Regions from separate parts of the Homo sapiens genome. Here region 2 is linked to region 1. Evidence: promoter capture Hi-C in 16 types of primary human blood cells and fetal thymus (Javierre and others, 2016). All regions are on one chromosome and are shown on one strand. Each heading gives the region's core, a stretch centred on a gene start or on the middle of the fragment in contact. The rest is flanking DNA. Distances are from core to core; before and after follow the strand shown. Region 1 holds the start of RTN4R (reticulon 4 receptor). Region 2 overlaps COMT (catechol-O-methyltransferase).

Region 1 (6,007 bases), core at 2,855-5,354:
TGCAGGTTTGGATAAATAAATGATGGTGCATTCTCAGGAAGGGATTCCACACACACCAGAAAACCCATGATGCACAAGAATAGTTCCCGATGTGCAAAATGTTTAAAATACAGCGATAAAAGAAGAAACGGCAGCACAGAACACCTGGTGTGGGGGAGCCCAGCTGGGCCCCAGGGACAGTGCAGGGAGATTTGTGGGGTGGGGCAGCATGCCCGCCGCTCCGATCGGGCTTCCCTGGGCCACTCTGTGACCTCCTATCCTTTAAAGCATTTAATCCTAGAGATGCCCGATGCCAAGGATCACACCCCTTGATTTGCCTGGCTCAGAAGAGAATCTGACAGGCTAGGAACGAACGAGTGAATGAATGAACAAATGAGAAAGTGAATGGATGGTTGGGGCAAATGCAGCATCTGGGATCTGGCTTTGAGGAGGGTGCCTGTGACCTTGGCCTGGGTGCAGCCAGACCGCAGAGCAGGGACACTGAGGGGTGCAGAGAGGGACCCGAGAGGGCATCTGCACAGCTGCAGAGGCAGCAGGCGGCCAAGCCAGCTCCCGCAGACCCTGAGGCCCAGGCCCTGGGTGGCTGCAGAGGGTCAGGCAGACCAGCCTGGGGGTCAGAGGTCAGGCTCACCAGAATGGGGGCGGGACGGCATGAACCTCATTGATCAGATAGTAGCCAAGTGTCAGGAGCCCTCACTAACCCTGTGCCAGGGCCGGGCGGGGCGCCTGGCTCACACACGCATTTGTTCATTTCCAGGTCATCCTGAAACTCCCCGTGTGCTTCCTGCTCTTGACCCCTTTCCCAGGTGCACAGACCAAGGCTCCCGGTGAGAGGTTCCGGGCCACAGGCCCAGGACAGCAGGAGGGCTCCTCTGCCTCCCGCCCGTCCTGTCCTCACCAGCTGGACCCTCCTGGTGTTGCACCGGCTGCACAGGGCCGTCCGTGCCACAAAGCATGAATTCAAGGCTGGGGCAGGGACGAGGAGAGGGCAATGCTACAAGGCTGCACTGTTCCTGGGCAGAGGGAGGGGGAGAGCACGGTCCCACACACCCTGGCCCTCACAGCCTGCCTGTCACTCACAGCAACAGCAAACAAACCCTGGCCCCTCCACAGGCTGTGGGCCAGTTCCCAGCCTCCCAGGACAGCAGGACCTTCCCCCACCTTCCAGGGCCCCAGCCCCTGTAGGGGTGTCCTCCATGGACCCTCCACAAGCCCTCTGGCTTTCAGAGACGTGCTGGGCCAGGCCCTCCCTCAGCCTCTCCCCTGCTTCTCACTCCATGCAAACCTACGTTTCTGCCAGTCCCAGCAGAAGGACCCTGGCACGGGGAAACTGAGGCTCAGGGGTTCCACAGACCCCCAGGTGAGGAACAGGGGGAGGGCAGGGAGGGAGTGAAGGTACTATGGGAGGGTCTCCCAAGCTGGGCAGCATCCCTGCCCTGTCCCCTCTCCACTCACCTGTGGCCCGAGTTGCCTGACTAGGGGCTTTTATTGTCCCTTCTGCACATGGATGGGGTGAGGGGCCAGCTGGCAGTGCAAAGGTCCCAGGAGGACTCTGCTGAGTGGGGGTGTGGGGAGGTGTTGTGGGCATTCTGAGGCAGAAGCACCAGAGTCAGAACTCCACAGGGAAAGCCGGGCCAATTCCGCCCAGCCTCAGCCTGGAAGTGCCCCGATAATCCCTGACCACTGGCCCATGGTGCAGGTGAGGAAGACTGAGGCAGAGAGGCGACCTGTCACACCCAAGGTCACACCGCCAGCAGGTGGCTGAGCCAGGACCCAAATCCAGGTCACGGTTCTGCCACGGCAGGCCCTGCACGTGCCCCTCTGCCAGGTGGCGTCTAGGTGCTGATGGCCACCCATTCCCACCCCCGGCATGGGAGCTCACTTCCTCCTCACCTCAGTAGAGAAGAACAGGGAACAGTACCCCCTTTATAGATGGGAAGACTGAGGCTTAGAAAAAGAGACTGGCCAGCCCCACTGCTTCAGCTGCCCCTCTGCTAGTATGTTTCACCCTCACACAACCTACAAGGATAACCTGCTGGTCCCCACTCTATAGATGAGCCTCTGGTGGTGGCCAGGGGAGCAGGAGGTGTGGCCTGCCAATCCAAGCCCCAGCCCAGGGCCCTTGCCACAGTGCTAGTGGGCCACCCTTGCCCATCATGCAGCATGGCATCCATCTGCTCAGCACCCTACACAACACCGGAGGTAGGGGAGCCCACCACAGAACCCCTCACCAAGAAGGTCCTCACCATGGAGAAACTGAGGCACTGGAGGCGGGGCCTCTGCAGTCACGCTGGGTCACGTGCTCCAGTCAGCCAAGCTGCAGCGGCCACCAAGGGTGCCCAGGGTCTGGCCTGTTGGTCACAGTGTTGACCTCATGGCCTGAAATGGGTCTTCCCTGCCCAGACAGGTTCCAGCCCACCATCATCTATCTGCCTCAGCCCTGGTGGGTAGGGAGTGGCTGGGAGACCCTGCCCCTCACACCCTGGGCTTTGCGGTATTCAACGAGCCCCCAACACACATTCCAGGGCCTCTGCTCCAGATTAGGCCACAGCCTGTCTAGGCACACAAGGGGCACCCACACCCTGGAGGCAAAGAGACATGCCTATGTGCCCGCAGGCACACATGATCACGCGCACAGACACACGTGCAGATGCATACCAAGTTACACACACGCACACAAGCCCGAGGCGGGGACCCCCAGGACACGGAGGCAGGCAGGCAGAGGTGGGGCCCAGGATGTCTTGCCCCTGTCTGTGGGCCTGGCCTCCCCACTCAACAGACGAGCATGTGGGTGCGGGAGTGGTTATTGCGAAAGGGGCCCCAGCATGTGCCACCCGTGGAGACCACAGCAGGCATGCCGCGTGCATGCATGTGTGGCCGTGGGTGTGCAGGCGGGGGCGAGGACACAGATATGCACCCTCAGAGTCCGTGTGTGCACCCAGTGTTTGTGCATGTGCACACTGGGGCGGCGTTGGCTTGCATGTGCACCAGAGGTGTGCAAGTGTGCAGTCCGTGTAGACAAGTGCACGTGCAAGGAAACGTGTGTGCAGCCTGCGGCACCATGGACATCAGCAGGGCAGCCTGGGTGGGCACCTGGGGAGCACCCTCCAGGCGGGGCATGCCCAACTCACATGGAGCCCACCCTCCCTTGCCCGCACCGCGGGACCTCACAGCCGGTGGGGCGGGGGAGTCCCACGAGGGCTGCTAGGGAGGGGTTGCTGATTGCCCCACCGCCCCTGATTCCCCCAGCCAAGCCTCTCAATGTCCCTCGGGCTGCAGATGGCGGGCGTTGCTGCCTCCTCTCACCGCCCGCCCTGGAGGCAGCGCTGGGACAACCCTGTCCCCCACGCCCTCTACTGCCGCCAACGCCCCCATTCATCCCACTGTGGACTGACCTCGGAGAAACGGGAGGTTCTGAGCCCAGACCGTGAGGCTGGGGTGGAGGCGGCCCGACACCCCCACCCACCCTCGGTACCCACGTTTCTGCAAAAACCCGCTCGTTAACCCCTTGGTGGCCGGGGCGCTCCGAGGCCGGGCCCCGCCCTTCCAGCCCACGGCCCCCGCCCTCGACTTGGCCCAGCATCGGGGACCCTCGGACCGCCACCCTCGGCCCTGCCGAAGCCGTCAACTTTCCCGGGAAGCGGCAACTTTTCCTGCCGCCTCCGGCTCCGCCCTCCCGGGGCCGGGGCGCCAGCGGCCCCAGCCTGGCGCGGCACTGCGGTGGCTTTCCCTGCCGCCCGGCTACGCTTCCCTCGCCTCGGCAGCCCGGGACGGGCCCTGCGGCTCCGGGGAGGGGGCGAGCCGCCCCCCTCCGCGCCCCGCCGCCGGCCGGGCTCGGGTGCAGCGCGGACACTCACCTCCAGCGGACGCCCTCTTCATCGTAGGGGTTGGGCGGGGCGCGTCGGGGACTGAAAGTCGTTTCGGGGCGGGCGCCCGTCTCCCCGCGGCCGGGTCCGCATCCAGGCGCCGCCGCTACGGCCCGGCCCCGGCCCGGCCGCGGGACGAGGCTCGGCGCGCTCCGCTCCGCCCGGCTCTGGCTGGGCTCGGGCCGCGGGTGCGCAGGGCGCGCAGGGCGCACAGGGCGAGGGCGGCGGCGGCGCGGGGGTTGGGGCGTGGGCGGCGCGGCGGGCCGGGGCGCGCAGGCCGGGCCGCAGGAGGCGCTCAGCCCGCCCGGTGCACCGGCGCCGCGCGGTCCCAGACAAAGGCGGCGCATTCCTGAAGAGGCGGCGGCCCCTGCAGGCGGCGGAGGGGATGGCGGCCCGGGCCGGAGCCGGCCGGGGACGCGGGCCCGAGGGTGTGGCGGCCTAGGCTGGCCCGGTCCCCAAGCGGGCAAGGGCTTTGTCCCGAGGCCTAGGAATGGCCTCTGCCTGACCCACTCCCTTCCTGGCCTCACGAAACCCATGAATCCCCCGCCCCCTGCACAGAAGCCCCTTGCTGCAGCACGATCGCCCCCATTTTTCAGTAAGAAACAGGCTCAGGGCTTAAGAGAGTTCTGGGGGCCCTCCTGGGCCTTTGTGGCCCTCTCTGCACCATCCTAGAGAAGGGACCTAGGCCTGATGTTACCCGTAACCCTGCAGGGGTCCCCCACCTCTTCCCTTCTGCGGAATGGGGGCTCCAAACCCAGAAGACGCTCTCCGAGGTCACCTGCTTAGTATCCCCCCACTCTACCAAGCCAGCCCCCCACGGGCGGTGTGAGGCATGGGGCCAGAGAATCCAGTGACGCCCCTGCACACACCACACAGGGGTGCAGGTGTCCCTTCTCAATCTTCTGCTCGGGGCACCTACCGGGCCTCACCGATGAGCTCCTAAGTGCATCCCGGGGTCTTCAGACAACTGCCAGGCTGCCCCTGCACCTGGAGAAGTGCTGGGAGTCAGCTCAGCCGGGCTGGGTCCTCCCCAGGCCCACCCTGCATGAGAGGACCATGCAGATGAGGGTCTTGCAGGCCCACCTGGTGTCAGTCTGTAGGACCCTGACTCAAGGACGGAGTGGGCCAGCCTGATGCCTTGATGGCCCCCCTCAGAGCCCAGGTCCACTGATATGAAGCAGAGAGACCTGGTGACTGGGCACCCCTGTGCCCTCTGCCTGCCCCTGGCCATGGAGGTGGCCCTGAGGGAGATGAGCAGGGCGCAGGGCCGGTGACCTGCCTGCCTTGTGCAGAGGAAGTGAGGACCTCCCAGAGCCCTGGTGCTCCCATCTGATCCCAGTGGCAGGCAGCTTCGCAGGGTGGAGCCATGCTGGGTGGGCCCTCTGCCTGGTGTGGAGGCTGCACTGCCCACATGCCTCTGGCTGCCGCTCTGTGGCCCTCATCACTTTGGCCTGCTTTATCCCTATCACCCTTGTCCCAGCCTAGGCTTATGAGGGCATTGTGGAGTGCATGCCATTCCCAGCCACACAGAAGGTGAGGTGGGGCCCAGACACCCCCAGCCACTCTGTCCCCTGGCCTCCTGAAGGGGTGGGCTGTGCACACACTGCCACCTCCCCAGAGGGTGCTGGCTGCCGAGTGCCACCAGCTCAGCCCCTGAGGTGGCTCAACAGGTCCTCCCAGAGCCACACCAAGACGTCATCACCCATTGCACAGATAGGGAACCTCAGGCGAAGCTCACAGAGCCAGTGGGAGGCTGAGGCCTGACCCCCAGACAAGCATTCTTCTCCAGGGTCCCTGCACACAGCAGCCCCCAGGCTAGGAACTGAGCTCTCTCCACAGGGATGTATCAGACCCTAGATGAGTCACGTGGCACTGACCATCAGTCTGAGGACAGCGCTGGGGTGGACCAGGCTCCAGTCTCGGGCTGCTCTGTGCTTGCAGAAAGGCCTTGAGAGGACACTTGCTTGCTTACTCCGCAGGCGTCTCTTCAATTACCAGTGACCCAGAGCAGCCCACTATAGCTGAAGATTGTGACCCCACACCCTATCTCATAGGTTTAAAGCCCCTCCCACCCCTCCTGCCGCAGCCGAAGTGACCATTCTGGGGCATGGGATGGGCATGGGGTGAAATGGGGAGCAGGG
Region 2 (6,121 bases), core at 41-2,540, 310 kb before region 1:
GCTAGTCCTCTGCCTCCTCCTTCCTCTCTGCAGGTTGGAGAAATGACAGCTTCTTGTACTGGGGGTTATGAGACAGTGGCAGGAGGGGGACACTCCCAGAGTGCTGCCAGAAAGAGGCGAGGCCCCATCTGGATTTGATGGCATTTTTATTGTGGTGTTGTTTTAGAGACAGTGTCTGTCGCCCAGGATGGACGACATGGTGCAATCATGGCTCACTCCAGCCTCCAACTCCTGGGCCCAAGCAATCCTCCCACTTCAGCCTCCTGAGTAGCTGCAGCTATAGGCACACCACCATGCCTGGCTCAATGGGTATTTTGTGGCCATTAAACTTCTGGTCATTCCTTTAGATTCCCAGAGGCTGGATGGAGGTGAGTGGCCAGCCCCTGGGTCCAGAGATGAGCGCGGGGCCTGGCTGCAGCCTGTGGGGTCTCCCAGGCTGGCCTCCAGGTGTCCTCTCAGCCTGTCCACAGGCGCTGCCCAAGCGTGTGGCCTACCTGGTGCTGCCTGGCCTGTCTCTACGCACCTGTACTGGCTCTCCCTGGATTACTGGATCGCAGTCGAATCCCCTGCCAGAATCCTGGTCCCCCTTTATCACACCGGATCAGCCCCAAAGGGCAGGGCTTCTTGCAGCAGTTCCAGCCTTTGCTGGGGGTTTCCAGCCCTGTTGAGCAAGCCCCAGGTAGGGCCCTCTGCAGCCCCCGTGGGGGACCTGTGTGCCGAGCAGAGCTGCCCCGTGTGTAAACGCTTAGAACTGGCCTCCTTCCTGCCATCTGTGTCCTGTTTGTCATCACGCCTGTGGCTCTATGCTTGTCTCCCCGACTGGGCCACCAGCCCTGTGAGGGCAGGATGAGGCACGTCCAAGCCACAGTGGCTCTCAGTGTGCAGGGTGCTGTTAGCATTGGTTCTGTGTTCTGGAATAGTGAGAACAGTGTGCCCCAAATGGCCAGTGGCCTTTCCGAGGGTCACTGCAGCCGCATGTTGGCCCTCTGTGGAGAACGGAGGATGCACAGCCATTTCAGAGCACAACCTGAGGTCTCCTGAGCTTGCTGTGCAGCCCAGTCTTTCTCTCCGTGGCCCCTGGTAGCTGTCTTTCTCCCAGGAGGAGGAGAAAGACACCTTCCTGAGCAGGAGGATGTGGGTGAATAGAGACCAAAGTGTCAATCACTCTTCTGACAGAGGTGATAGCAGAATGAAAAACTGATGGACCCCAGATCTTTGCAAAGAGAACAAAGTCAGTTTCTAGTTATCTTTCTTTCTTTTTTTTCTTTTTTTCTTTTTTTTTTTTTTTTTTTTTTTTTGAGATGGAGTCTCGCTCTGCTGCCCAGGCTGGAGTGCAGTGGTGTGATCTCAGCTCACTGCAACCGCCTCCCGGGTTCAAGTGATTCTCCTGCCTCAGCCTCCTGAGTAACCAGGACTACAGGCACACACCACCACGCCCAGCTAATTTTTGTTATTTTTAGCAGAGACAGGGTTTCACCATGTTGGCCAGGATGGTCTTGAGCTCTCTTTTTTTTTTTTTTTTTTTTTTTTGAGACGGAGTCTCGCTCTGTCACCCAGGCTGGAGTGCAATGGAGTGATCTTAGCTCCCTGCAACCTCTGCCTCCCAGGTTCAGGCTATTCTCCTGCCTCAGCCTCCTGAGTAGCTGGGACTAACAGGTGCTTGCCACCAAGCCTGGCTAATTTTTGTATTTTTAGTAGAGACAGGGTTTCACCATATTGGCCAGGCTGATCTCGAAATCCTGACCTTGTGGTCTGCCCGCCTTGGCCTCCCAAAGTGCTGGGATTACAGGCGTAAGCCACCACACCAGGCCCATTTTCTAGTTATCTTTTACGGATTTTTTAAAATGAGCCTAGAAACCAGGTCATATAATTAGTTTATTTTTTAATTTCTTATAGAGACAGGGTCTTACTATGTTGCCCAGAGTGGTCCTGAACGCCTGGGCTCAAGTGATCCTCCTGCCTCAGCCTCCCAAAGTATTGGGATTACAGGTGTGGCCACTGTTCCAGCCATAGTTCATATTTTAAAGGATTTTTAAGAGTCTCATTTCACTGATGTTACTTGCAGTATATTTATGGAAAACATTCCTGTCTTTTTTTTTTTTTTGAGACGGAGTCTCACTCTGTTACCCAGGCTGGAGTGCAGTGGCGTGATCTCGGCTCACTGCAAGCTCCGCCTCTGGGGTTCACGCCATTCTCCTGCCTCAGCCTCCCGAGTAGCTGGGACTACAGGTGCCTGCCACCACACCCGGCCAATTTTTTGTATTTTTAGTAGAGACAGGGTTTCACTGTGTTAGCCAGGATGGTCTCGATCTCCTGACCTCGTGATCTGCCCGCCCCGGCCTCCCAAAGTGCTGGGATTACAGGCATGAGCCACCGCGCCCGGCCAGCATTCCTGTCTTTTAAAGAAAGATGAGACCAGATGCAGTGGTGTGCACCTGTGGTCCCAGCTACTCAGGAGGATGCCTTGAGCCTGGGAGTTCAAGGCTGCAGCTGCAGTGAGCCTTGATCACGCCACTGCACTCCAGCCTGGGCAATTGAACAGGACCCTGTCTCTAAAGAAATAAAATAAAGGCAGATGAATGTCATCTAGGGTGTGTCCAATGTGAGAGAGAATACTGACCAGGTGACAGAGGTGATGGACTCTCTAGCTCTGCAGCAGACTGCTGGGCAGAGAAGCTTGGGCAGGCCTGGCACTGAGGCCCAGAAGCTTCATGCTCTTTAGAGCCAGAGGTGTCAAGCCCAGCTGCCTGTGTCCTGGCCGCACTGTGAGGCACTGAGGATGCCCTCACACGTGCATCTGCATGTGGCGTGCATGTGGCAAGCATGTGCAGGTGCTGTGTGGGCACGATCATGCCTGCCCTCTACTGTGCTGGAGAGGTAAGACCATCAGCCGTTTCACAGAGGAGGGAATGTGGACCTCACGGGGGTCTCATGAGCTTGCGAGCCGATGGCCAGGCAGCCGGTGCAGAAGGTTCATCCATTTTGATGAACCGTGAATTCATCTGTACTTTATTCATTTTAATAACTGAATCATACCTCATTGTATGGCTCTACCATGTTTTATTATCCATTCAGGTGCTAACGGATGGAAGGGTTGTTTCTACCTGTTGGCCATTGTGGATGATGTTGCTATGCATATTGGGGTACGAGTATCTGGTTTAGTCCCTGTTTTCAATTCTTGGTATACACCTAGGAGTAGAATTGCTGGGTCATATGGTAGTTCTATTTTAACTTTTTTTTATTTTTAATTTTTGTGGGTTTTTAAGAATTTTTTAATATTTGTGGGTGCATAGCATGTTTAATTTTTTTTTTTTTTTTGAGACGGGGTCTTGCTCTGTTGCCCAGGCTGGAGTGCAGTGGCAGGATCACAGCCCTGTGCAGCCTCAACCTCCTGGGCTCAGGTGATCCTCCCGCCTCAGCCTCCCAAGTATCTGGGACTACACGTGCGGACCACCACGCCTGGCTAATTTTTAAGTTTTTTGTAGAGATGGGGTCTTGCCATGTTTCCCAGACTGGTATGGGACTCCTGGGCTCAAGCAATCCTCCCATCCCAACCTCCCAAAGTGCTGGAATTACAGTCATGAGCCACCAGGTCTGACCACATGTTTAACTTTTTGAAGAACTACCAAACTGTTTTCCACGGCATTCACACCAGCAATGCAAGAGGGTTCCCATTTCATCACATCCTTGCTAACACTTGTTATTTTCCTTAAAAAAAAAAAAAAAAAAAAGCCAGCTGGGCACGGTGGCTCATGCATGTAATCCCAGCACTTTGGAAGGCCAAGGGGGTGGAGCACTTGAGCTCAGGAGACTAGCCTGGGCAAAATATCGAGACCCCACCTCCACTCCATCTCTACCAAAAAAAAAAAAAAAAAAAAGCTGGGTGTGCGGTGGTGCACATCTGTCGTCCCAGCTACTTGGGGGGGCTGAGGCAGGAGGATCCCTTGAGCCCAGGAGGTCGAGACTGCAGTGAGCTGCGACCGCGCCACTGCACTCCAGGCTGAGCGACAGAGTGAGACCCTGTTTCAAAAAAACAAAAAAAAAGCACATTTCAAACATACACAAAAGCAGAGAGAATTCCCCTCGGTCCTCCGGCCTGCACCCCACCGCCCCCCACCACAGGGGCATTCAAAACTGTCTTTTTGCCTCTCTGTAAGGTAAGGGGGGACTCTTGACGCTCCCCAGACCACACAGCCAAAGTAGGGCGATCGGATCATAGGGGGTCCCGAGTCGGACACTGAGCTGGCGTGCCCACTCTCGAGTCCTGGGACCCCAAACTAAAGGAGCTGTTCCTTTTCCCCATGGAGGGCTGACGGGGCAAAATCCCAGGGCTGGGAACATCCGAGCAGCTTTGAGTAGCACAGGTGGGTTTCTACGTGGCTTTCTTTAAAGGGAGGCCTGATTCTCGGCTTTTCAGGACCCGCCCTCCATTTTCTCACTTGCCTGCTCTTTCGTCCTGCGAAACTGGGCAGTGGCCGGTGACAGCGCAGGGTCAGCCCTCGGATGGCCAGGTGGGCGTGATCCCACCCTCCTCCGTGGCTGGGTGGGCGTGGTCCCAAAGTCAATTGGATGTGGTCCCGCGTCCCTCCCGGCCCAGTGGGCGGGGCCTCCCCTTCTGGGGCCTCCCATCCCACACCAGCGAGCAGAGAGGAGGGTGGGCGGGGAGGCCCTACGGGGCTGGGGCGGGGCGGAGCGGAGGTGGTTAGCTGTCGGGAGGTGGGGTGGGCAGGGGCCAGGGCTCTGTTGGTGGCCCGGGGCAGCCAGTCCCTCTGCTCAGGGCTTCAGTTCACACTCACAAGGGAATCCCAGCGCTCTTCTCCTCTGGCGGTTGCTGGAGGGCCTTGTGAGGTGGCCGTGGGCACTGTAGCCCCCAGGCACTGCATTGTGGCCTGGGCGTGTTGGCCTTTGAGCCTTTGGCCTTGAGCACTTCCCCATCCCCCATGGCTCTTGGCCGTTGGGGCCCAGTTGGCCGCAGAGCCTTTGGCCTTGAGCACTTCCCCAGCCCCCATGGCTCTTGGCCATTGGACCCCAGTTGGCCACAGAGCCGCGGGCAGGTGGGACAGGCGGGCACTGGGTGCCTCCTTGCACCAGCCAGGCCCAGCCTGCAGAGTGGAGTGGGCCGGTCCCTCCTGCCAGGCAAAGGAAGGGGGCTTCGGGCCCCTCCCTGCTGTGGCCTCCTCCCCTCTGCTGCCTCCCACTAGGCCCTGGGAGACACTGCCTGCAGATTTATGAACAGACAGACCTAGAGATTAGAGATTCAAAAGCCAAATTCTTACACAATTCAAGTATTAACGCAGATTTGGATTTATAATTTGGGACTCCAAGGTCTACCAAGTAATTTGCTGTTTCAGAATAGCCCTTTTAATTTGGGGTATATATTTCTAACACTGTTTTTTAAATATGGAGAGTAAACAAAATGGCCCATTATCTGACCACACAAATACTAGTAGTCATTATAGATAAACCATAGCAGATAAATAATAGTAAACAAAGCAACAGGCTGTGTCATAGGAAATCCCCACCATGAAGAAAGGAGCAAGGTGGAAAGTTCTGGCTGCTTCAGGTCTGCATGGTCCCTCTCCACCATGGTTCCCCCTGTCATCTTCCTGCCAGAATAAGGACACTGTCCTTAGGGAAGCACCATCTCTTGTTTTTTCCCCACGAGCCCTGTGGGTCATGGCACGTCCTGCCCCGCTGGGAAACACAGTGGGCCACGGGTTTCCCTGCAGGCCTGGGACCCTTCCCAAGGGTAGCAGCAGAAGGCAGCACGATTCCCACTCCTGCAGCTGTGGACAGGGGCACCCCCACTGTCACTGAGCCCTGCACCGGGTTCCATCACCTGCTCGGGGCTCTGGCCTTTGGCCTTTTCCTGTGAGCTGCATGTTGGCCACTGTGACCTATCTGTCTCATCATCTTTTTCTTACTGGTTTGTGTATGTTCTTGGTAAACTAGCCCTTGGTCTTACACATCATTTCCAAGGTACTAAGGACTCTTCAGGGGAAATACAACTTGAGCAGAGTGGTTCCCTCCTCTTGTGGTTCACAAGGTGCAGGTGCACACACACATAGCCCACAGGGCAGTGTGGACAGGGACCAGGAGACTGCCCCTGGGGTCCCTGGCT

What was found. The method cuts DNA at HindIII sites, captures the fragments that hold promoters and counts their contacts. A CHiCAGO score of 5 or more calls a contact.
Region 2: a contact is called between a fragment that was not itself captured here and the fragment with the promoter of RTN4R in region 1, in 3 of 17 cell types (neutrophils, total B cells and naive B cells). The highest score is 8.1, in neutrophils.

The regions. Positions count from the first base shown.
Region 1 is chr22:20,264,214-20,270,220 of GRCh38, forward strand. RTN4R (reticulon 4 receptor) reads right to left here and starts at 4,105. Exons shown (of 2, transcript NM_023004.6): 1 at 3,858-4,105. The coding sequence starts at 3,879. RefSeq lists an enhancer at 2,949-3,637 and silencers at 3,849-4,008, 4,099-4,258, 4,309-4,368. The HindIII fragment of the contact is 20,492 bases long and covers 1-6,007 here.
Region 2 is chr22:19,954,865-19,960,985 of GRCh38, forward strand. The region is part of intron 1 of COMT (catechol-O-methyltransferase); the gene reads left to right. Among named protein-coding and RNA genes, the nearest start is that of MIR4761, 5.8 kb to the right of the region's middle. RefSeq lists an enhancer at 1-561 and a silencer at 864-1,031. The HindIII fragment of the contact is 2,768 bases long and covers 1-2,674 here.